7 separate regions of the Homo sapiens genome follow, and all the other regions are linked to region 2. Evidence: promoter capture Hi-C in 16 types of primary human blood cells and fetal thymus (Javierre and others, 2016). All regions are on one chromosome and are shown on one strand. Each heading gives the region's core, a stretch centred on a gene start or on the middle of the fragment in contact. The rest is flanking DNA. Distances are from core to core; before and after follow the strand shown. Region 1 overlaps SIAE (sialic acid acetylesterase). Region 2 holds the start of TMEM218 (transmembrane protein 218). Region 3 holds the start of NRGN (neurogranin). Region 4 overlaps STT3A (STT3 oligosaccharyltransferase complex catalytic subunit A). Region 5 holds the start of SIAE (sialic acid acetylesterase). Region 6 overlaps MSANTD2 (Myb/SANT DNA binding domain containing 2). Region 7 has its middle 18 kb from the start of FEZ1.

Region 1 (3,376 bases), core at 87-2,586, 460 kb after region 2:
CATTGTGCTGTATTGCCTAGAAGAATAAACAATCCAACAGGAAGAACAAATGTTATAAACATGTACTCAAAGAAATGTATCAGTATACTGATTATGAACACCTGCTTAGGAAAGGCTGGATCAGGAAGAATACTTGGGGAGGGAAAGGGCTAGTGAATACAAATCCCGATACTAACATCAATGTAGAGATGAGCAGTATGTGACTTGCTTTCATGGACCATGTCTCATTCACGCTGGGAAGCCCTGTGGGAGGAGGATGGGCTTGAGCTCTGGGTATAGTTTGGGTAAAAGCTTGCCTGTGGGGGAGTGAAGATATTCAACTTTGGAACAGGAAGAATGGCCTGCAGTAGAGTAGGAGTGAGCGTTAGACCAGATCTCTGGGGGTGGAAGGGATAATCCCGAGGGTGTGGGCAAGTGGGCTTCTCACACGCAGCAGCTACAGGATAAATTCATATAAATATTCTACAGAGAAATTTGAGAACGTGTTCAGAGCCTTAAAAAAGATGCCCTTTGACACAGCAGTTTCATTTCTGGGAATTTATCTTATGGATATAGTTAAGCATGTATGCAATGACTTAGCTATAAGGAAGATGATCTTGGCATTCCATATAAAAGCAAAAAGTTTAAAACAACCTAAATGTCTGTGCATTAAATAAAGGTTTATTTAATAAAAGTTAGGTAAATTTATTGGCCCCCCCCCACAATGTGAGAAACTCAACAATAAAGCACTCCTTCCCTGTGGCTTTAATTACCTTAGAAATTACCTTTAATTACCATAGAAAGCTGACCGATACACTTATTTTGGGAATAACCTGGAGGTGAAATTCAGAGAATATTCATATGTTTTCAAGAAAAAGAGTTTCGATTCAATTTTAATTCTGTGTTGCTTTCATCAGAAGTTTACCACAAGTGAAAGTGGATAGATGACCAATTAGGGACCCTTATGTGATCAATCACTGGCTCTCTGGTGACACTTGTGCATCATATGATTTCAGGTCCATTCCATACGATTCTGTAACTGGTCCCAGTAAGCACTCTGTTCTCTGGAATGCCATGATCCATCCACTGTGCAATATGACTCTGAAAGGGGTAGTATGGTACCAGGGTAAGTGTTCAGTGTACTCTTTCTCCATTGTATCAGATAGCGTTTGCTGTATAACACAGCACCCTAGAACGTAGTGGCTTAAAGCAACAATAACTTTATAATTTTATTCAGCTCACTGTTCTGTGGGTGAGCAGGGTAGTTTTTATGTCTGGGCTGCTTCAGCTAATTCCTGCTGGGACCTCTTATGTGTCTTTGGCCACCTGGCAGATTGTCTGGTGGCTGGATGACCTAGGATGGTCTCTCCCTAGATGTATTGTCTGGGGGCTGTTGCAACATGGTTCTGAGGTGACCTCTTATCCTTCAGCAAGCCAGTATAGACTCATTTATTATTTATATAATAGTCTCAGGATTCCAGGGTCATCAGGAGAGGACAGAGCCCAAACCTGAAGTACTTTTCAAGCCTCTGTTCGTACCACATTTGCTGATGCCCCACTGGCTGGAAAAAGACCAGTCCAGAGAGACCGTGGGAAGACCACTACCTCAGGGCATGGATGGAGGGAGGAGAGTAATGTGTGGTCATTTTTGCAGTCTACTCCAAACTCCCTTTACAATTTGGACTGTTTTTAGGGGAGTCCAATATAAATTATAACACGGATCTGTACAATTGCACATTCCCTGCACTCATCGAAGACTGGCGTGAAACCTTCCACCGTGGTTCCCAGGGGCAGACGGAGCGTTTCTTCCCATTTGGACTTGTCCAGGTACGATGTGGGTAAAGGCTTCTCTGTTCATGTCAACACCTGTTCCTGTGTTGAGAGGAAGAGGTTTATGGGCATTGGTGTGGGGATGTGCTATTTGGATCTCTTTCCTGGATTTCATCTTCCTTTTTTGTCCTCATAATGTGCTGGTCAAGAACTGAATGTAAGGCTTACTTCATCTCAGTTCACTGATAGGACAATTAAATCTTCAAAAAAAGTTGATAAGTAACTAATATTTCTTATTTAAAAAGCATTACAGTTTCATTGAGGAAATATTAAAAAGATAAGCAAAAAAGAAGCTAAAAAAGTTGATAATTTTCCAATCCAAAAATAAGCAGCTGTCTTCTGCTCATTTATTTTTGAAATAGATCTGTACTATATCTTGCATTTTTCTCTAAAAGTAATATTTCAATTAGAGATAAGTAGTAAACGATTTTTCATGTCAATAAATATTAATCTTCAATGCAGTTTGTAATGATTGTAGAGCCTGAAATATGGTTACATTGTAGTTTATTTAACTAGCTGTCTATAGATTGGGCATTTCGGTTGTTTTAAACGTTTTGCTTTAATAAGCTTTGGCATGTTTATTTTCCTTGTTGCTAAATCACTGCATATATGCTTGATTATTTCCCTAAGGTAAATTCCCAGAAATGAAATTTCTGGTTCAAAAGGTACACCTTTGTAAGGCTTTGAACATGTCCCCAGATTTCTCTGAAGAAATTCATGAATTTGTATAAATTTATGCTCTTAACAACTGTCTGTGAGAATGTCCATTTCCCCACCCCCTCCCCAACTTGGTGTTATCCCTTCCACTCCCTGGAATCCACCGTGCTCTCTCACTCCCTGGCCATTGCACTTGCTCCTTGCCTTCCATACTTTCCTAGTTAACTTTAATCATCCTTTAGGTCCCAGACAGCCTACATATTAGTTAGGAAGCCTTCTGTGACTATCCAGATTAGTTAGATGCCCCCTTTCTCTCTACTTCCCCTTTTTATTTGCATGAGGTTGCCTACATGACTACATTTTCCTGGGTCACACTTAACATCCCTAGTACGTATGTAGTTGATTGGCACTCGTTAAATAGTGGCTTAACATGTGAATGAAAAAAGATAGCAAGAGAAACCATACATTTAATTAGAGATAACTAGTCAGAAAGATTCTGCTTTCAGCCTTGCATAAAAAGAATAAACATATTTGACCAAGTTCATAATTGCCTAGCCTCCACATGTTCATATGAACTACACTTTTTAGCACGGTGGTAGTGCTGGTTTTTCTAGAACATAAGAAATCAAACAAGTAAGGTGATATAAAAACAATGCCCATCTTAAAACATGACAACAGAGTAGGCTTTCCTGTGTAAATGGGACATCCATGGTCCCAGACACCACCTCCGCACGCCCCACAGATGACTTCTCACCATCCTCCCCACTCCCCTACCTTGTCCTTTTCACTGTACCTTCTTTTGAATATTTGTATAGACCTTCTCACTTAAAATGCCTTTATGATTATTTTCTTTCTTCTTTCCTGCATTTGTTCTGACTTTGAAATAAGATTATTCTGCTCATTATTTTCA
Region 2 (3,695 bases), core at 512-3,011:
TGACCAGCTTGTCTACACATTACTTTCCATCATTTGTCTCCATATTATTCTCCAGATACTCAGTGCTCATTCTTGCCTTGGCCTCTTTGCTCAAACTACTTTCTCCTCCTGGATTCTGTTCCACCTTTCCTGTTCCTACTCATATGCTAGGACCCAGCATTAGTTCTAGCTCTATGATAAAGACACACACATTAATTCCAGCCATAACAAAATATCCCCCAAATAATACAAGGGAAGAAGTGCTCTGGAAACTACGAAATGTTCTGCAAATATGAAGTATTATTATATTTTGGAGAAATTAATTGTACAATAGGGTTGGCCCATTGTTATATCTTGCTTTAAAGTGTTTCCTACTTGTTTCATGTGTTGTTGACCTAACATTACAAAACCACGGGCTATTAAGATGGGAGTCACATCTCATTTCTTGTATATCTTCGCAGTTCCTAACAGAACATAGCTGCAGTCAACACTCAGTTCCAGTGAAATGAATTCATCAAAATAAAGGATTTCTTAGCCACAGAGCTTCTCACTGGGCCAAGTAATGTTAAGTTGCTAAACGCACAACAAATCATTGGTTACTTTATGTGATTGTAAATGAAGCCTCGAAAGTTGAATAAATTTGAGACGTGCAGTTGATGAAATTCAAGCATCTTCTTCTTTTTGGTTCATAAAGCTGTGATTCAGGAGAATTCCTTAAATCAGAGATTCAGTGCTCTAAGATTGAATAGGTTGCTTCATGATATTTCTTAAAATTTTGTTTAAGGTCAAAGGTTCAAACGGTGCAGCTCTCCAATTTGGTATTGATTATTGTTTGTTTCCCCTTCTTGATTCAGTGGTGGAGCACGCAGCCTCTGTCCTACTTCCTTTGGTTGTCCTGATTGATGCATCTTTTGGTCTAACAGGCCATAGCCTCAAAGCAAAGTCATGGCAAGCTTTAGTTGGCAGTTAGGTAACAGCAGTCTGCCAATAGCGTGGGCCAGCTCCAGTTCCAGCAGCCTGGCGGCAGAGGGTTTACTTGATGGACCCTGGGCCTCTTCCCCAGTCTGTCCCGTGGGTAGAATGATCTTTGCCTTTGTCTGTTTCGCAAGGCTAATGGAAGAATTAAATACCAAATAAAACAAGTCGAGATAAAGATAAATGAAGCGTGCCGTTATTACAACTGGTGCTTCGTCCTCAGTTCCCTCCAGGAGGGTTGTTGGGGACACTTAATGACCGGGCCTGAGCTGACTTGTCCACCACATCTTGCGCCCCACTCGAGCTAGTGGGTTGGGGATTGAGATGTTCATCAGGCCCCGGAAAAGGCATTGATGTCTAGATGACTGTGCAGTTCTCTGGAGTTCGAGATCTGAGCTGCCTGGCCCTGCTGCTTCGCTGCCTGGATGGGCAATCTCTATGGTGACAGCGAGTGAGGCCGGAAGAAGTCTCTCTCTTCCGCCCAACAACCCGCCCTCAGGCTAGACTGACCAATGGCCCAATGAGTTACGGAGAGATGGTGTGATTGACAGTGGAGTGGCGGGGGGGCGGGGAGTGCAGCTCGGACCGCTGCTACCCAACCGAACTGAGGTCGGTCCAAAGGCTGACAGGCACCGACCAATCGGAGGGCGTAACGAAGGGTGACGAGCCAACCCACCGCGCTCGGCGTTGCCGGGAGCCGCGCTAGGCGTAAGCTAATGAGGAAGAAGTTGGCCGTTGAAAGAGCAACGCTGATTAGTGAATCTTAAATCACCTAAATGAAAGCCCACTTGTGATTCGCCCTAAGTAAACCAGAGCCCCGTGGGCTGGAACGCGCCGGAATCTGAGGTGTGAGTAGAGCCTGGGGGAGAGTGGATCCAGGTGAAGGGGGCAGAGGTGAGGAAAGCGGGGCGGCTGCGGGGAAGGGAGAAAAGTGGAGGGTCGGGCTGAGGTGGTTGGAAGAAGGCGTGGGCGGACGGCGGTGCACGGACCTCGCAGACCACCCTTACCGCTGATCTGGACCCAAGGCCCGGCTAATAAATACTTAATTGGAGGCAGAGAAGGAAGGACTGTTTTGTTTCATGCTCTTAAGAAAAGGAAGTGTCAGTGCCTGATTCAGATCTCTTATGACCGAGACCTTAATCCCTCTCTAGCTCCTGGGAGGTGGCCAGGTGCACATTCTGAAGACGAGACATGGGGGGCATTGTTTTCCTGTCGCCAGTTTGAATCTGCAACAGGGTTGGGGAGAAGCTTAGAGTTCAAGTGGGGTGTTCCCAGGCTGCAGTGCTGTGAGATCCAGAGAGCGGATAGACCGAGGCTCTGCAGCGCTTCCAACCCACAACACCGTCCAGGAGAGGGATGCAAGGAAGAGACCTAGGTTTACTGATCCTCCTTTTTCTATCAACGTGTTAAGAGCAGATGCTACATCGGTGGCATTTTGGGAGCTTGGCAACTGATTTTTTCCCCAGGCTTGCATTTTATCTAATTACAAAGGTAGAGGCGTTATTCTAATATTTTAAAATTCAAAAGATAGTGAAGTGTTTAAAGTAGAAACATAAAAGTGTGAAAGTAACCCCCCCCCCCCGTTATTTTTGAAGGTTTGGAAAACAGCTATAAAGCAAAGTGAAAAGGACTCTTCCAGAGGAGCACTTCACTCCTTGTAACCCACTGTTTTCTGTTGCTTTCAAGGGCTTGAGTCAGTGTGAAAATCGGGGGATGGGTGAGATATCTCCCTCCAGCAGCAGCACTTAGGCCACATTACCCTCTGAGGAATCCACATTTGTCTTAGATAGTAAGTCATCTTATAAGTCATCTTATAATGGCAGTTAGTATTCTCGCTCATGATGATCAACCTGGTGATGAGTACCGTATTTTTAATCCATTAGGTTACCTGTGCAGGGATCAGTCCATTTATTCCTATTTTCTCTGACAGCTGGATGAAAGGGTATGTAGAAACAACCATTAAATGAACACACACATCTAAAAGGTTTTGAACAAACTCTCTCAGAGAAAAACCTCACAGCATTGAGCACAGAAGGAAAACATTAGCCCTGTAGTTGCTTTTGTTGTCAGCTGCTGAACTGTTCAAATTTAAATTATTTTTTTTCACTCCAGTCTACCTGCTTTAAATGCCACAGATATTAAGTAAATGGACTTACCCTTGAAATCGGGTTGGCCAAGCCATCACTTCTCAAAGAAGGTTTAATGATGGCATGAACCCGTTTTTATATTTTATTGTATTGTACTCAATAACAATAATTTAGCTATTCTAATATGGGAAATTATCACAGATATTATTCTCACATTTAAATAAGATAAAAATGACTAGATGTTCTCTCTTCCTCTATAGCAGCACTCTATACTATACCCAGCCCTTCTTTTCTATGCTTAGTAAGAAAATGTATAGTTTGCTTATAAAATTATGAGCTCCATTCTTAAAAGAGCTTGGGAATATTTATCTTATTACTTTAAAGCCATACCATATATAAATCCAATGTCTCACGAACTCTTAAGCTACTAAGGGGGATTGAAGGGCAACATTTCTAATGGCGCCAGCCAGCTTCAACTACCATTTGCCCTCTATTCTAACTGTTAGAGTTGGTCCAAGTCTTCTGGGTTATTTGTGTAATATCCAGAATAGCACAAATTAAATTTAAATAGTTGTTTTCTTAAGAGCAGTACCATCAGCTCAGTCAACTAAGCTAGAAACTTGTGTCATTTCTAACACCTTCTCCCTTGACACA
Region 3 (3,281 bases), core at 515-3,014, 370 kb after region 2:
ATCCTCACCTCTCCCCTCCCCCCAGCTCATTTCCCAGAACCCACCATCCATTTATCTTCTCTACTTTATACAACACTGCTGGGAGGAAGGGCTCTTCCTCAGTGGAGCCCAGGAACCTCCATGAGGAGCCCATTTCTCCCTTCACAACCAAAAAATTGCTTCCTGTAGAATAACAAGCAGAGGGAAAAGGCTGGAAGGAGATATGTTATCGGGGTGTTCTCCAGGGGGTGGGACTGTAGGTGACTGACATGTTTGTTTTTCATACTTTTCTCTAGGTTTTACGTTTTCTATTATGAGCAGATTACTTTTATAATCAGTAAATATTTAGAGGAGAGGTTAAACCACAGCTCTTCGAAGAAGACAGGGCTATGTTTGAATCCTGCCTCCACAGTTAGGAGTCATGCTTCCTTGGAAAAATCTAACTTTCTAAACCTCAGTTGGCACATCTGTGAAATAATACCTACTTCACAGGGTTGTTGCTATGATTAAATATAAAGTGCTGGCTACAGGGCAGGCATTCACAAACTGGCAACTATTACTTAAACTAATAAGAGTTAAAATCGCAACCACCACCACTTGCCCCTAAGTGTTCTCTGCCTCTTGGTACCCAGACATGGGAAAGTCTCACCTATTATAGAACTGGGCTATCCTTCCCTTCCAAAGCCCACTTTTTTTTTCTTTACTATGCCATAAGGTGGCAAAGTCAGTAACCTCGTGTATCATTAGCTGGTTGACTGAATGACTGAAAATACAAGGACTTTGGAATAGTCTTTCTCCAAGTGCAGAGGCAAAAAATAAATAAGCAAACAAATAAATTTCATATACGTATGATCACTGTACTCTTCCAGTGAGGCAGGAGCCAGGGCCTATGCCAGGCGCTTTCATACCGAGTCACCTTTACAGCAAACCCCTCGGGCGCTGGGCACTTGCAGTACCCAGGTTTCCGCGTGGGCGCTGACAAATTGCAGACACTTCCTTTCCTCGCCAGCAGGGCTCTCTCGCGGTCACTTCACCCAGCCCCTTCCGAGCGAGAAGGCCTTGGGGGCCGGGACAACCCCTCCCCAGAACCACCCTGACTAGGCTCTTTGCAGCCAGCATCACTACCGAGCTAACCAATATGGACCAGCCTGCGCTGCACAGGGCGCTTAGGCGATCGTTGGAGGGTCATGAGGATCAGCCTGTCCGCCCACCGACGGCGGCGCAGTGGGATGGGGAACGGGGTGGGGGCCGAAAGACGGGAGGAAGGAGTCGCTGCAGTGTCTCCAGGCGATGGTTGCCAGCGTCTCACTGGGGAGGAAGTTCCTCCTGTCATCCAACCCGCAGTTCCCCTCTTGCAGAGCCCTGCCGAGCTCCCAGTCCAGCCTAGGCTGTCTAACGGATGGGCGCTCAGACGCCCCCGCGAGTTGAGGAGCATTTTTCCTAGGGCTTCCAAGTCGGGCGGGCGCCTTCCACCATCCACCACCCACGTCTCGGCAAGGACCCCTTTTCTTTCTGCTCCTAGGTCTTCCGCATCCACTTCCATCCCTCTCTCGCCCTCCAGGGCTTTCTCAGGCGCCTCTCGCAGCGGACCCCGCCAAGTGCCCCTCCCCCGGGCCCTCTAACTTACGGTGCAGCAGTCCATGCTGGTGTCGGGGGGTCCTCTGCGGGGACGAAGGCTGGCGCAGGGCGGGGGTGGGGTCTGTGTGGTGCCGGGTGGGGGCTCTGGGGCAGTCGGCCGCCAGCCGACCCGCGCCGAAACAGCAGCTCTGCTCTCGGGTCCGGTCTCCCGCGCTCGGCTCCGCTCGCGAATGTAACCTGAGCCCCGCGGCCGGGAAGCCAATCAGGAGCAGCCTCCGGCAGGGTGGGCGGGGAGAAGTGGAGGGAGGGCCACGCCCTCTCGCGGCTCTCTGCGCCGCGCTCCCGCTCCTGCCCCAGCCCCTCCGCCTACACGCTTGTATCCAAGCCTCCTACACACTCCATCCTCCCGGGCGCAATCCCCTGGCTTGCTAGGCGGCAGACTGCCAGGCAGATGTACGCCGGAGTAGGCAGAAGGAGGCCCCCGACACCCCGAGCACAAACACCCACATCTGGGCACAGCACCTACTCCCGCTCAGAGAAAACCACGCACCCCTCACCCATCCCTCCATACTTCCACAACCTAGCAGGAGTCCCAAATATGGCTCCCTTTCACTTCACTCCCCCTCAGTCCGCAAAGAAAGGCTCCCTAACGGGCGGTAAAAAGGTCTCATCATCACTCCTGCTACAGACGGAGAAACCTGTTGGTACAACCTGGCGATGGGCATGCGTCCACACAAAAGCTCACAAGCCCCACATGTCCACATATGATTTTCCCAGGCCTTCTTCCAGCATACAGACACTGCAGATACAACCTGCAAAAATAACTACGCAGCCCTTCAGTTGCAGGTAAATGCGGACACCCTGTTGCGGGCGCCCGCGCGCTCACGCACGCACACGGACAGTCACCCAACTCAAGCTGTCGGCATGACGTATCTATTATCGATCTGTCTACATGAGCTGCAACAAACAACATCATATATGCACAACACCTATTTTGTATGTATTTATATATGGGCACAGACTTGGAAGAAGTATCCTCCTCCCTTTCATACCAGACTCTGCCTAACCTTTTGATCTGCTGCCTCAGAATAAGACAAAAGCTGGCCATCCTCGCCCTTGCTCCTGAGAAGAAGAAAAATACCCTAAACCCAAGTGTAGAGAATTCGAAGTAATTGGCTCTTGGGTCCATGATGAGGCAGGATGTGGGCTTCGTGAGAGGCTGGGAAGGGGAGCTATGGAAAGAGCATCTGGGAGGGACAGACTGCCACTGTTGTGGTCGTCAGCCTCCCCCAACTCGGCAGGGTACAAAAGCTGGCAGTGTGGCTTGTTATGTGGGTAGGGTAGGCCTTCTCTGAGAAAACTAGAAAGTCTTCTCAGCTAAGGTCCCAGAGAAGGGAAGGAGGAAAGGATGGCTCCTGCTGGGAGCAAAGGTGGGAAATGCCCTGTGGCTCTGGTTGGGACAGCAGATCCTGAGACAGCTCTGCTGTGCATCCCCAGTCCCTGGCCATGACCAGGGACCACGTGGCGGTGACATGCTTCCTTTCCACCTAGATGTTTGGGCCCGAGGCTCTGCTTGCCAAAGGAAAAATGAGTGGGAGAGAAATGCCTGAGTCCATTCAGGGTGGGGATAAGGTTAGCCAGCTTGGGGTCCCAGGCTGAGCTGGATGCTGGCCGGGATTCCAGGGCTTGGGGTGTAGGGGTGTCTCTCCCAGCATGTTTGGGAC
Region 4 (3,462 bases), core at 824-3,323, 490 kb before region 2:
GGGAGTTCGAGACCAGCCTGACCAACATGGAGAAACCCTGTCTCTACTAAAAATACAAAATTAGCCAGGCGTGGTGGCGCATGCCTGTAATCCTAGCTACTTAGGAGGCTGAGGCAGGAGAATCGCTTGAACCCGGGAGGCAGAGGTTGTGGTGAGCTGAGATTGTGCCATTGCACTCCAGCCTGGGCAACAAGAGCAAAACTCCATCTCAAAAAAAATTAATAATAATAACAAATAAAAATAAATAAGAGGCCGGCGTAGTAGTTAATGCCTGTTATCCCAGCACTTTGGGAGGCAGAGGTGGATGGATCGCTTGAGCACAGAAGTTTGAGACCAGCCTGTGTAACATGACAAGACCCAATCTACAAAAAATACAAAAATTAGCCAGGCGTGGTGGCGCGTGCCTGTAATCCCAGCTACTTAGGAGGCTGAGGCAGGAGAATCGCTTGAACCCGGGAGGCAGAGGTTGTGGTGAGCTGAGATTGTGCCATTGCACTCCAGCCTGGGCAACAAGAGCGAAACTCCATCTCAAAAAATAATAATAATAATAATAAATAAAAATAAAGAAGAGGCCGGTGTAGTAGTTCATGCCTGTTATCCCAGCACTTTGGGAGGCAGAGGTGGATGGATCGCTTGAGCACAGAAGTTTGAGACCAGCCTGTGTAACATAACAAGACCCAATCTACAAAAAACACAAAAATTAGCCAGGCATGGTGGCGCGTGCCTGTAATCCCAGCTACTCGGGAGGCTGAGGTGGGAGGATCACTTGAGCCCAGGAAGTTGAGGCTGCATGAGCCATAACTGAGCCACTGAACTTCAGCCTGGGTGACACAGCAAGACCCTGTTTCCAAAAAAAAGGAAGACAGACAAAAATAAACAAAGAGTCTCAAACTAGAGACAGTTTAATTACTATGGATAATCATGACTAACCGTCCTCTCTGCCCACCTCTCTAACCCTATTTCCTCCTTGGTCAGTCAAGTTTTGAAAGCTGAAGTAAACAGAAGCAACAGATGGCAGAAATCTCTATCCTTCTGTTTGTCACTGATGTTATTTTGGTGACTGTCAGAAACAGAAGAGATGAGGGTTGCAGACATCAGTATGTGTCAGAATTGTGTCCTTTAGCTACCAGTAGGAGAGGCAGAGTGAGAGAGGAAGTATAAGTTAGTAGGAATAGGTCTGGACTGCATTCACCACTCTGGGAATCAGTTTCCTCCTCTGCAAAAGGAAGTGTCAAGTCCCTTATGGTCCCTAACAGCTCTTGACGACAAAGCAGATGCTCTTGCATTCCTTGATTATCTAACATCAATATTTGCTCATTCAGAGGGTCTGAGAAAGAAGCCTAACAGATTGGGATCAAGAAACAAAAGTAGGCTGGGCATGGAAGCCCATACCTGTAATGCCAGTACTTTGGGAGGCTGAGGAGGGAGGATTGCTTGAGCCCAGGAGTTTGAGACCAGCCTGGGCAACATAGTGAGACTCCATCTCTACAAAAAATTTTTAAAAAATTAGCTAGGTATGGTGGCACATGCCTGTGGTCCCAGCTACTTGGGAAACTGAGGTGGGGGGATCACTTAGGCCCCACAAGTCAAGGCTGCAGTAAGCCGTGATCACTCCACTGCACTTCAGCTTGGGTGACAGTCAGACCCAATCTCAAACAAAAAAAGAAAAAACAAAAGGACATGTCTCCTCATTCATGAGAAAAAATATAAACTGAATTTGGGAGGCCCCAAACAGAATTATTTGTAATGCCTCCAAAATGCTTTCAAATATCTACACAAAACAAAATTATAAATTTGCAAATAGATGCAGGCATTTTCAATCAATACTCCACAAGATTGAATATACTATTTTTAAGATACCAATAATATTTCAAGAACCTATGATTTTGGCCCTCCAAATTTGTTATAAGCCTTAACTTTAGGCAATATAACACAGTGACTACAGTCTCTGGAGTCAGACAAACCAACATTCAAATCACGGTTCCTCCACGTACTGAATAATCAACCTTAGATAACCACTCCCAGCCTGAGTCTCCTCATTTCTTTTTTCTTTTTCTTTTTTTTTTGAGATGGAGCCTTGCTCTGTAGCCCAGGCAGGAGTGCAGTGGCATGATCTTGGCTCACTGCAACCTCCACCTCCTGCGTTCAAGCGATTCTCCTGCCTCAGTCTCTAGAGTAGCTGGGATTACGGGCACATGCCACCATGCCCAGCTAATTTTTGTATTTTTAGTAGAGATGGGGTTTTACTATGTTGGCCAGGCTGGTCTCGAACTCCTGACCTTGTGATCTGCCCGCCTTGGCCTCCCCCAGTGCTGGGATTACAGGCGTGAGCCACCGTGCCCAGTGGAGTCTCCTCATTTCTAAGAAGGGAATAATAGTACCTACATCTCAAAGGGTTGCTGAAAGGATTTAGAGATAATCTGTAAATTAGTGCTTGGAACAAAATGAATGCTTAGTAAATACTAGTTATTAATACCACTAAGGAATTCCACTATATCTTTTTCATCTAATGAACAAAATTCCTTATCAAACTGATAACTTTGAGTTTTTTCATTGCCCTAGAATTTAACTAAGAAGCCCAATTTCTATCACATAAATTGCTAAACAAACAAACAAACAGCAAAATGTCATGAATCTCAAGTCCATTGTTTGTGATTCTCTTCTGAGCCTGGAATACACACCAGGACCCTTTCCTTCAATCTGCATCACAAACTTTTACCAAACTGGGCAGCCAGAATTCTCTTAGCCTAGCCAGATCTTAAGTGATAGGCAGACATACTAGCAATGCCTCTCACATTTTTTGAGTTTCAGAGACTTACTTGGTCAATTCCAACACATACTTTTTTTTTTTTTTTTGTAGAGATGGGGTTTCACCATGTTGCCCAGGCTGGTCTTGAACTCCTGAGCTCAAGTGATCCCTCCACCTCAGCCTCCCAAAGTGCTGGGATTACAGGTGTGAGCCACTGTGCTGGACTCCAACACATACGTCTTAAAAGGAGATAATTATCTCCTTTGGAAGAATTTAAGGGTTTTTTTTTCCCTTAAATGTACTGAAAGCACATCTCTATCACTGAGAGCTGACTGAAATTTGAATCTGAAACCCATGAACCTGAATGCCTCCCAAAGGAAATAATACCAGATCAAGCAAAGGTACTCACGGATCAAACTCATGGATAACACTTTCAAATCTCAGGACAGCAAACAGACGAGTGGAGAAGGCTGCAAAAACCAGAGAGTTAATATTTTATTGGTAATGTGCCATGAAAGAACAGCAGATATAGTATTATAATGAAGACAGTATTATCCAGTAGAGAGGTCACAGAAAATATAAAATAATCCCTGAATAAAGTCTTTATCCATCTTTCCCCACATAAAGGAAACAAGAGAAGTTTACTTTCCCCTGACAATGGCATCTACATTTTCCACTTTCATAGGTCACAGTTAACTAATTATAAAAGCCTA
Region 5 (3,334 bases), core at 405-2,904, 440 kb after region 2:
AAATAGGCTGCTGCAAAAGCTGGTATATTGTCCGGTTGCTCTCTCAGAATCTCGCGTGTCAGCCCTTCAAGAAGATTCCCAAATCCTTGTGGAATTCGGTAGTGGGTGTTGGAGAATGGAATCGACATCTTCTTGGTAAGAACTGCCTATGGAACCTAAAGATTCATTAAAGAGTACTGTCTTTAAATTTGTCTGATTTTACTTATATAATCACAACTATGCCAACAAATTATTTCTGAGACTCATACATCTGGACTTGAATTCTTTTTTCCCTAACACAACCCAAGCCCATCCATTTCTTCCAAAGAGTTTTGAAATCTCCATTGTGAATTAGTATAATACAAACACAGACCCATTCACTAGGCCAAATCATTTAAAATCCTGCAAAAAACCCATAATTTTCAATATGACTTTTTCTCTCTTTACCCTTTATATGCTCAAAAGGTAAGGGTAATTTTTGCTATCACACAGGAATTTAGAGAGAATGATTGCTAAAAAGTTAAATTCATTGTCAATTGCTGAGAAGACCTTCTTTGAGGTCTATTTTTTTTTAAAGAGTAGAAATTAGTCCTGGTTCTAGAAATTAATTTGTTGAATGAAGAAGTTGCACAATCTTTCCCCTTGCTGCCACTTCTGAAGCATGACCCACAATGCTTCGAACACCTTCGTACTGTGGAATGGGGTTGTGCGTGCGTGTGTGTGAGGGAGGGATGGGATGGGATGGGGCTGTGTGTCATGATTTTGAAATCCCAGCCTCTAAAGTTTTAGAATTCTTATATTTTTCGGTTTCTTCTTGATCAGGTTGTCTCTTTCTGTCTTGAAATACAAGGGCTAGATTAAGGGTAGCTGCTAAGCAGCGGGCTGAGCTACTACTGAGTATGAAAAGAATCCTCCGGGACCTGGCCTGTTAATGTGAGAGTGTGCGTCAATGCGGAATAGAGGCGGAGGCCGTGGTAGGGGTCCAGGTTGGGAGAACTGGACGGTTTAATGAGGCTCAGACTATGGAGGGTTCTCGTTTCATCGCTTTTTTTTTCTTTGAGAGGGGGTCTCTGGCCTCGAACTCCTGGGCTCCAGCGATGATCCCGCCTCAGCCTCCCGAGCAATTGGGATTACAGGCGCGCGCCACCACGCCTGACTCCTCTCTTTTGCTTTTTCTGAGGGAGCAGTAGATGGGGGTATCGAACCATTCTAGAGTGGTGAAAAGAGCTGGCGAGATTCTGAACCAATGTGGGCAGAGGAGGGCGGGCGGAGGGGGCAGACGGGTCTAGTCGGGGGCGGGATGTTGAGGACCTGGGATTTCAGACTCGCGCAGAATGGGCTGCCTCGGCTCCCAAACGGCCCAGGGCTCCGAGGCTGTGTCTGGGATGCTGAGAGAATAAGAGAGACGAAGGGAAAAGGCTAGGTCTTGGTATCGGAGAGGAAGTGGGGAAGCGGCCTCACCTCCTTTCTCTCCGAGCTGGTGCCGCCGGTTCCGGTTGTTTTTCTAGTTGCTGGGTAACCGTTTTTTCTTTAAAAAAAAAAAAAAACTACGGCGGCCGAGAAGGGGCGAGTACAGCCCAGTCCTGAGGTCGCGGGAGGCTGCGAGGACTGCAAAAGGGTGGAGTCGGCCTCGCCCCCGCCCAGGCCCCGCCCCTGCCGGGAACCCACTTTCCCAGTCCTAGGCGGCGGTCAGATCCTTGCAAGCATGGTCGCGCCGGGGCTTGTACTCGGGCTGGTGCTGCCATTAATCCTGTGGGCCGACAGAAGTGCAGGTGAGGCGGCCCGGCTCGGCCGGACCCCTGCCCCTCAGCCTGTGCGGGCTCCGAGACCCCGTGTCCTCTGCGGGACACGGATCCGCGCCCCTTTCTCAAGGTCGACGAAGGAACCTAGCTAGGCTAGGGGCTCGCGTCTCCGACCGAGGCCCGGTCTGCAGGAGTCTGCTGGGTTGAACCCCGGCCTCTCCACTTTCTCCACCCCCCACTTACCATCCCTGACATGCAGCCTGTGAGCAGGGAGAAAGTGCGGCTTGTCTGAGTGGGGAGGCCCAAATGTGCCCAGAAAGAGGCCTTCGGGGTCCTGGAGTAACTGCAGGGGAGCTCGGAGGGAAGGAGGCGAAGCTAGTTAGGTAATATTTGGAAACAGGTGACTGAATCTTCCAAAACATTTCAGCGCTACCCCCTCAGTGGTGCCCTTGGGGAGGGTTTGCTTCAGGCGGGGTTCCTTAGGGGAATTAAATTTTACTCGTTTAAGTGGTTATCAGGGCTAAGAAATACAACCCCCTCACTAGCTCTGACTATTTAAGGCTCAGTTTTGATTTCTGGTACCGCTTACAGATATTGGTGGTGGGAAAATGTGAGTGGCATAGGGGAGGCTGGTGGCTCCCTTTGGCTGTTGCGCAGGTCAGATCTTGCCATTCGAATACCCTAGGCTGGACACTGGGTCACAGTATGGAGAAAGCAGAAGGTGCAATCTGTCTGATAATGCAAACTAAAGTGATAATGTTGGATTTCTTCCTTTCTGTTTCAAAACACTCAAAGAGTGGACCCCAGAGATCCCTGTTAAGAAATGATAGTTGGGGTAGGAGAACAGCGTGCAGAAAAATGACTCCTGCTCTACCTGAGAGCCGGAAAAGTACCTAGATTCAGACAAACTGCAGCCCATAAATGATTGTTCAGAGTCTAACAAAAGTGCAAAATGCTAGCACTCTGTATGCCATTTCCTGACTCTTATCTCCACTCAGTGACCTTTGAGATCCATCTTATGAGGTGGGGAAAAGATATTTTATTAGGTTTTCAGTTAAAGGCTGTTTATTTTAGTGTCAGTATTTTATCTCCTCCTTTGGGTCTTATTGTTACATCACCTTCATTAACATTGATCACATTTTTCATTCATTAGTACTCTACTTGGTTGCGTATCCTGACGTTTTTCCTTTAAGTCATTCTCCCTGTGCCCATGTTTACCATGTAATGCTTGAGATGTACAAAATTATATGTAACAATGACACAATAAAATGAACACCCATGAGAGCAGTACCCAACTTAAGAACTAGAACATTGCCAGTCTATTGAGCCTGCCATTGTGCTCCTCGCCAATGCATCCGGAGCTCCTCACCAGAGGCAACCACTGCCCTCTCTTCCCCATAACACTAATTCCTGTTTTTCTACTCCAGCCCCAAATGAAGGAAAAAACTGAAGACCTAAAAAATCCAAATGTTGGCTCACACCTTTAATCCCAGCACTTTGGGAGGCTGAGGTGGGCGGATCACTTAGAGTCAGGAGTTCAAGACCAGCCTGGCCAACATGGCGAAACCCCGTCTCTACTAAAAATACAAAAAAATTGGCCAGGCGCGGTGGCT
Region 6 (3,721 bases), core at 420-2,919, 310 kb after region 2:
AGTCTAATAGGCGCAATCATGAGTTAGAGTAAGCTAAAGGAGGGAAATTGCACCAAAGTTCTCCAGGTCTTGGCTCCAGTAGTATTTCTTTGGGGATGTTGTTGCTTAGAAAACTGGGTCCACAAACTAAGATATTTAAAACCTACTATTGTTCAAGGAATTTGCCACCCATTAATTACTCCATTACAAATTTAAATTAGTGTATTTGATAACATTTATCTTTGGGACTTCTTAAGCTTTCTCTTTTTTTAACAAAGACATTAAAGTAGTAGCTAATAGGACAAAGCTACTCTTCTCTGAATCTCATTTGTTCTATTCAACGTCATTAAGGTTAAATTTTAATTTTTATTTATTTATATTTAGAGAGAGGATCTCCCTCTCTTGCCCAACCTGAAGAACTCCTGGGCTCAAACAATCCTCCCCAGTAGCTAGGACTGCAGGCATGCCCCACCACACCTGGCTCATTAAATTTTTTTTTTTTTTTTTTTTTTTTTTAAGAGACAGGGTCTTCTACGTTGCTCAGGCTGGTTTTAGCTCCCTGGTCTCAAGCTGTCCTGCCTCAGTCTCCCAAAGCACTAGGATTACAGGCGTGAGCCACCGTGCCCAGCCAAGGTTAAATTTTTGGGAGACTTTTTGTACTGTCTTGGCTAGCGTCTATCCATGACCTCTTCTTGAGTTTAGAAGTGCATTTTAGGCATTTTAAACTGTTTCAGCTTGATTGATTTCTGTCTGTAGAAACTTCCCAATCACGCAGAAAAAGTGTGTTGTCAAAACCTCACTGAATATAAATCTCTCCATAAAATTGTTTCTCAACCAGGGAGTATCTAATTGGGTTGTTTCATTGTCCAGTTATGAGAAGGATAACTTAAAGCAAGAAAAGGAGATTTATTTGAATAATTTTTAGAAGAGGATTGGTTTACCTGTGTCCAGACAGGTAAAACCAAGTTGACCTCAAGCTCTTAGGGTATTTTGGGAATGTGCTGATGAGTATGGGTTCTCTGATCCATAGTAGCTGTTAACAAGGAGGGCAGATAACTGTTTTGTGTTTTAAAGTGCTCTACTCTTTATGTGATTTCAATCAAAGAACCCAGACTTTTTCATTAGTAATGTTGAGTGTTCCTGCCAGAATGATAAGCTCTCTAAGGACAGGTTCTGGTCTCTCTTACTCACTGCTGTACTAGCATATAGTAGACACTACATTTTTTTTAATTTGTTTTATGTTTATTTTTAATGGAGGCAGGGTTTTGCTCTGTTGCCTAAGCTGGAGTGCAGTAACGTGATCATAGCTCACTGCAGCCTTGAACTCCTGGACCTAAGTGATGCTCCCACCTCAGCTTCCTGAGTAGCTAGGACTACAGGCATTTACTACCACGCCCAGCTAATTTTTAAATTTTGTATTTTTGTTTTTTTAGAAGCAGGGTCTCACTGTGTTGCCTAGACTGGTCTCAAACTCCTAGAATCAAGCGATCCGCCTGCCTTGGCCTCCCAAAGTGCTGGGATTATAGGCGAGAGCCACCACATCCGGCCTTATTTAATTAATTCACCAAATAAAGTCTAGAAAGAGAATATTGGAAAATATAAAAATCTGCAGCAGTATTATTCAATAATACTGCTGTTTAACGAAAAAACAGACTTTGGAACCCAGTCTGAAGAATACTGCATTTAAGGAGATTTAGTGTGAATGTAATCTTCAGCACAGAAGCAAATGTGGTCACTGAAATCATATTCCTACACAATTATGAAGTGGATGTTCAAGTAACTCAGATTATGCTTATGAAAATAAAACTGCTATCTTAAAATCTCAGAGAATCTCAAACCTCTGAAAAGAAGTCATTAGATCCCAGTTTCAGAAATGCAGATTTAAAACAAGTAGTTCAAAAATCTCTTTCACTTTGTGTTGATGAGAACTACAAAAAGAAACTTAGTAATACTTTTTGCTTTAGATTTTACAAAATAGAAGCAAAGTAGTAAGATGTGGAAAAGGAAAAGGAGGAACTTCTTACGCAGACTAAAGTACATGTGAACTCAATGTCAGAGGCTCACAGAGAAGGAATATGTGTGAGTCAATTACATTTCTGGGCTAATATATTTGAAATTCCTGTCAAAAATTCAATTATGAGCCGGGTACAGTAGCGCTTCCCTGTTGTCCCAGCTACTTTAGAGGGTGAGGTGGGAGGATCGCTTGAGCTCATGAATTTGAGGCTGCAGTGTGCCATGATCATAGCACCTGTAAATAGCCACTGTACTCCAGCTTGGGCAACATAGTGAGACCTGGTCTCTTAAAAAAAAAGAATTCAACTATGAAAACCCAGTAAATAATTTCTTCTAACTTTAAAAGGAAGAGCTATATAGCAACTTTAATTTTTCCATGCAAACCTTCCTTTAGTCAGATAATTTCTGATTAGCAGCCTTCCTCACATTGTATAAAGGATCAGAAAGCTGAGCCTTATTGCACCCTTTTCTGACCACCTTCCTGAATCACCTTAAAGCATGTCACTTACCTTCTTTGGACTGTGCCTTGGTCCTCTTATCTATACAGTAAAAATACTAAAATTATAAGTATTGAAATTGAATTAATAATTTAACTCTTGGATTTTGAGACTAACATCCTACTTTTTAATACTGTCTAAATGAACATGTTTCTAAGCACACAAGATTTTAATTTACAGTCAGATATGAAAATTTGTTTATTGCTGCAAAGTTTGATTTTGATGTCTGTCATCTTATTGGTATTTGTTCTGTCGTTTGGGTAAAACGGATGTGTTTGACACTGCCTTACTACATAGATTGTTTATCTTGAAGTTTTGTTGCATTTTTGTTTGTTTGCCAGAAGAAAATTTGTCTACTAACAATTCCAGCCCAATTTTGGAGTCAGATACACAAATCTAGGTAGTTTTTTATCTAGTGATTGCATGATTTTTCTCTTTTACTGTAGGCCTTTTCATATCTCCAGTCACCAAATACTTAAGTGCTTACTATGTGGAGGGCTGTCTGCTAGGTGTTAGGATGAATAAAAGAACTGTAGTTTTAAAAATAAAAATAAAAATAAAAGTATAATATACACTCCTGTAGTCCAAGAGCATAAAATCCAATTGAAGCTTGTGTACATACATCAATGAGTTAAAAAGCTGGTCAAGACAACACAAGGGATGGAATGCAAGGCGGTACTTGATTTAGTGTTATTTGCCTAAAGCAGACTATAAGTGTGATGACTTCAAAGGAGTGACCAGTCTCATCGCTGGCCATACTGTAGTAGTTGAAAGACCTATCTAGACTTGGAATTCATGAAAGCATTCACTCTGAGCCAGATGCTGCATTCACACTTCAGTCAGTTAATCTGATGCACTGCAAAACTCATTCTCAAGTCCCATATTTTTGGGTGTTCTCCAAAAATTTGCCTCTTGAGAGTTGGCTTTATGTCTTTGAAACAGATGTGTACTTCTAGCTGTGCCTCAAGATGAAATGCAAGGTGATTGAATGTGACCTAAAAGACTTGCCTTTTCTGAATCAGTGCTGGTCGCTCATCAGACAAATTTAAAAATGGTAAAAGAGGCCGGGCATGGTGGTTCATGCCTGTAATCGCAATACTTTGGGAGGCTGAGGCGGGCATATCACGTGAGCTCAGGAGTTGGAGACCAGCGTGGACAACGTGGTGACACCTGTCTCTACCAAAAATACAAAAAATTAGCCGGGCGTGGTGGCACACACTTGTAGTTACAGC
Region 7 (3,335 bases), core at 176-2,675, 400 kb before region 2:
CCTTCTCAGCATTTTTTTTTTTTTGCACTGGAGTCTCGCTCTGTCACCCAGGCTGGAGTGCAGTGGTGCAGTCTCGGCTCACTGCATCCTCTGCCTCCCAGGTTCAAGTGATTCTCCTGCCTCAGCCTCCGAGTAGCTGGGATTACAGGCGCCCGCTGCCACACCCAGCTAATTTTTGTATTTTTAGTAGAGACAGGGTTTCACCATGGTGGCCAGGCTGGTCTCGAACTCCTGACCTCAGATAATCTGCTCGCCTCGGCCTCCCAAAGTGCTGGGATTACAGGCGTGAGCCACAGCGCCTGGCTCATTCTTGTTTTTTTTGATGAACATAGTGGGAACGTGGCTATCCTGAACTTTGGAGTCAGATGGCTCTCTGGGTTAGAACTCCTGCCTTACCCCTTCTTAGCTGTGTGAGCCTTGAACAAATTATCCCATCCCTGAGAGCCTGTTTTCTCATTTTCCTAAACAAAGGGTAATCATACATACTTTATAAGGTCATTGTGCAAATAAAATGAGATGAAAAGTTTAACAAACAGTATTGTTAGGTAAAGCTCCTTACATAGTAAGCACATAAATGGCTGCTCTTGTTACGCTGCTTGCTTTTTAGAAATGAATCTGTTTGGGTAGTAGTGTAGCATCACCTGAGACCTGACTAAGCTTTTGTTTGCTTATTTGTTTAAGATTCATTGACTTTTTAAAAAATCACACTTTTACTGAGATATAATCACATACCATAAAATTTACCTTTTCATTTATTATTTAGAGACAGGGTCTTGTTCTGCTGTGCAGGCTAGAGTGCAGTGGTGTGATCACAACTCACTGCAGCCTCTACCCCTTAGGGTCAAGTGATCCTCCTGCCTTCTTAGTCTCCCAAGTAGCTGGGGCCACAGGTGTGTGCCACCCTACCCAGCTAATTAAAAAAAAACTTGTTTGTAGAGATGGGGTCTTGCTATGTTGGCCAGTCTGGTCTTGAACTCCAGGATTTAAGCAATCTTCCTGCTTTGGCATTCCAAAGTGCTGGGATTATAAGCATGAGCCACAGCATCCAGCCACACTTTTTTTTTTTTTTTTTTTGAGATGGAGTTTTGCTCTTGTTGCCCAGGCTGGAGTGCAATGGCGCAATCTTGGCTCACTGCAACCTCCGCCTCCCAGGTTCAAGTGATTCTCCTGTCTCATCCTCCCAAATAGCTGGGATTACAGGCATGTGCCACCCCATTTGGCTAATTTTGTATTTTTAGTAGAGACAGAGTTTCTCCGTGTTGGTCAGGCTGGTCTTGAACTCCCGACCTCAGGTGATCCGCCTGCCTCGGCCTCCCAAAGTGCTGAGATTACAGGCGTGAGCCACCACGCCCAACCAGCCACCCTTTTAAACTACACAATTCAGTGGCTTTTAGTATAGTCACAGAGTTGTGCAACAATCACATAACTACTTCCTTTTACTATCTACCACAATTTAATTTTAGTGCATTTTCATCATCCCACCCCCCGCCACACACACACCCTGCCAAACTAAAGAAACCACACATCCGTTAGCAGTCACTCTCCACAGCCCCTGGCAACCACCAATCTACTTTATGTTTCTATTGTGAAAAGAAATTACATTTTGGGACCCCAGAGTCATTTAGCCAAAGGGAAAAGTCAAAAATCAGATATGCATTTGTGTCTGGCAGGCCTGTACCTGTAAAGATAACCTATCAATTTGCATGCCACAGTGATGTTTTAGCAGCTCACCAGGAATTTCCTTGTGGGCAAAATATGGGGAAATTCCCAGTGAGCTGTTAAAACGTCACTATGGCAATGCAAATTGTTAGGTCATCTTTACAGGTGCAGGCCTGCCAGACACAAATGAATATCTGATTTTTCCCCTACTCCATTTTGTCTGTGTTATCTTATGTAAAATGCAGATTCCCCACATTTTTCCTTTGCCCCTTTTGCTTATGTGAAAACTGTGTGCTTCTCAATATCCCACCCTTTCCCCCTTAAATTTGGAGCCTCAAAATCATCTTCAGAGAAAGGCATAGACCTGTCTCCAGGATGCGTCCTTAACTTTGGCAAATAAATCTAAAATGATTGAGACTTGTCTCATCATTTTCTTCAATTGACACTATGTAGACATTTCATGTACATGAAATTACGTACCATGTGCCTTTCTGTGTCTGCTGTCTTTCACTCAACATAATGCTTTCAAGCTTATCTGTGTTGTAGCATTGTATCAGTATTTTGTTCTTTTTATGGCTGAATGACATTTCATTGCATGGATATACCACAATTTGTTTATCCATTTATCCCTTGATGGACATTTGGGTTTGTAGGAGTGAAAGGAACTCTCCTTCCACCCTTTAAAGGCTCGATAATCTCTGGAATAAACTTGACAGTAGACAGATTAACAGGAGAAAAGGCATACAAATTTATTACATGCATATGTATAGGAGTTCCACAAAATATGAGACACAAAGGAGGGCCAGATGGTTGAAGCTTAAATAGCATTGTGAGCTACAGAAAAAATTAGCTTGGCACAGTGGCTCACACCTGTAATCCTAGCACTTTGGGAAGCTGAGGTGGGAGGATGGCTTGAGCCCAGTAGTTCCAGATCAGCCTGGCCAATGTGGCAAAACCCTATCTCTACCAAAAATGCAAAACTTAGCTGGGTGTGGTGGCATGCCCCTGTAGTTCCAGCTACTCAGGTGGCTGAGGTAGGAGGATCACTTGAACCAGGGAGATCAAGGCTGCAGTGAGTACAGTGAGCTGTAATTGCACCCACTGCACCCCAACCTAGACAACAGAGTGAGACCCTGTCTCAAAAAAAAAAAAAAAAAAAAAAAGAATTAGAAGCTTAAAGACTCCTGGAGGGTGGTGGCAACAAGCTGTGGGAGAGTGAGGGGAGGAAGAGCACTGCAAGCAAAGGTTGTCTTATTATGCAGAAGAAGTCTCTCAGGTAGCTCTCAGAAGCATAAGTGAAAAGTCTGTCTGGGCATGATGTCCTAGATGTGGAGACATTTAGTCTCCTCTCTTAGAGATCATATAGATTCCAGGGAGTGAGTTCATGACACTTCATTTCTTCTGGAGGGATTTCTCTTAGTCAGATAAAGGAAATGTCAGAGAAAGTGCTTCCCTATGCTTTGGGAGAAAAAGAGAATCAAGACATAGTAAGCAGGGAAAGGTCAGAGAGACCTTGGTTCTGAGGCCCTTTCCTTTAAAAAATTTTGTTTTGCTTTTTTTTGTTGTTGTTGTTTTTTGTTGTTGTTTGTTTTTTTGAGACAGGATATTGTTCTGTCACCCAGGCTGGAGTGCAGTGGCACCATTACAGCTCCCTGCAGCTTCACCCTCCCAGGCTC

The links. The method cuts DNA at HindIII sites, captures the fragments that hold promoters and counts their contacts. A CHiCAGO score of 5 or more calls a contact.
Region 1: a fragment that was not itself captured here is called in contact with the fragment with the promoter of TMEM218 in region 2 in 1 of 17 cell types (total CD8 T cells); the score reaches 6.3 in total CD8 T cells.
Region 3: a contact is called between the fragment with the promoter of NRGN here and the fragment with the promoter of TMEM218 in region 2, in 1 of 17 cell types (total CD8 T cells). The highest score is 5.7, in total CD8 T cells.
Region 4: a contact is called between a fragment that was not itself captured here and the fragment with the promoter of TMEM218 in region 2, in 1 of 17 cell types (neutrophils). The highest score is 5.4, in neutrophils.
Region 5: the fragment with the promoter of SIAE here is called in contact with the fragment with the promoter of TMEM218 in region 2 in 10 of 17 cell types (non-activated CD4 T cells, naive CD8 T cells, naive CD4 T cells and 7 more); the score reaches 9.9 in non-activated CD4 T cells.
Region 6: a fragment that was not itself captured here is called in contact with the fragment with the promoter of TMEM218 in region 2 in 3 of 17 cell types (naive CD4 T cells, fetal thymus and total CD8 T cells); the score reaches 6.2 in naive CD4 T cells.
Region 7: a fragment that was not itself captured here is called in contact with the fragment with the promoter of TMEM218 in region 2 in 1 of 17 cell types (monocytes); the score reaches 6.1 in monocytes.

Annotation. Positions count from the first base shown.
Region 1 is chr11:124,645,795-124,649,170 of GRCh38, reverse strand. SIAE (sialic acid acetylesterase) reads left to right here. Exons shown (of 10, transcript NM_170601.5): 6 at 996-1,105; 7 at 1,673-1,806. Among named protein-coding and RNA genes, the nearest start is that of TBRG1, 25 kb to the right of the region's middle. The HindIII fragment of the contact is 2,085 bases long and covers 294-2,378 here.
Region 2 is chr11:125,109,692-125,113,386 of GRCh38, reverse strand. It overlaps TMEM218 (transmembrane protein 218), which reads left to right and starts at 1,761. Exons shown (of 5, transcript NM_001258244.2): 1 at 1,761-1,848. RefSeq lists enhancers at 1,167-1,346, 709-1,621, 1,977-2,066 and a silencer at 1,437-1,506. The HindIII fragment of the contact is 1,270 bases long and covers 935-2,204 here.
Region 3 is chr11:124,738,425-124,741,705 of GRCh38, reverse strand. It overlaps NRGN (neurogranin), which reads right to left and starts at 1,764. Exons shown (of 4, transcript NM_006176.3): 1 at 1,607-1,764. The coding sequence starts at 1,621. RefSeq lists silencers at 1,626-1,945, 2,006-2,065. The HindIII fragment of the contact is 6,441 bases long and covers 1-3,281 here.
Region 4 is chr11:125,596,816-125,600,277 of GRCh38, reverse strand. STT3A (STT3 oligosaccharyltransferase complex catalytic subunit A) reads right to left here. Exons shown (of 18, transcript NM_152713.5): 3 at 3,159-3,219. Among named protein-coding and RNA genes, the nearest start is that of STT3A, 5.7 kb to the right of the region's middle. The HindIII fragment of the contact is 4,469 bases long and covers 1-3,462 here.
Region 5 is chr11:124,672,059-124,675,392 of GRCh38, reverse strand. SIAE (sialic acid acetylesterase) reads left to right here and starts at 1,654. Exons shown (of 10, transcript NM_170601.5): 1 at 1,654-1,751. The coding sequence starts at 1,685. SPA17 (sperm autoantigenic protein 17) reads right to left here and starts at 1,489. Exons shown (of 5, transcript NM_017425.4): 1 at 1,441-1,489; 2 at 1-155. The coding sequence starts at 128. RefSeq lists an enhancer at 1,379-1,558 and silencers at 1,468-1,626, 1,599-1,718. The HindIII fragment of the contact is 8,074 bases long and covers 1-3,334 here.
Region 6 is chr11:124,795,009-124,798,729 of GRCh38, reverse strand. All of the region lies in intron 1 of MSANTD2 (Myb/SANT DNA binding domain containing 2), which reads left to right. Among named protein-coding and RNA genes, the nearest start is that of MSANTD2, 3.5 kb to the left of the region's middle. The HindIII fragment of the contact is 2,862 bases long and covers 239-3,100 here.
Region 7 is chr11:125,512,865-125,516,199 of GRCh38, reverse strand. No RefSeq gene overlaps it. Among named protein-coding and RNA genes, the nearest start is that of FEZ1, 18 kb to the right of the region's middle. The HindIII fragment of the contact is 1,532 bases long and covers 660-2,191 here.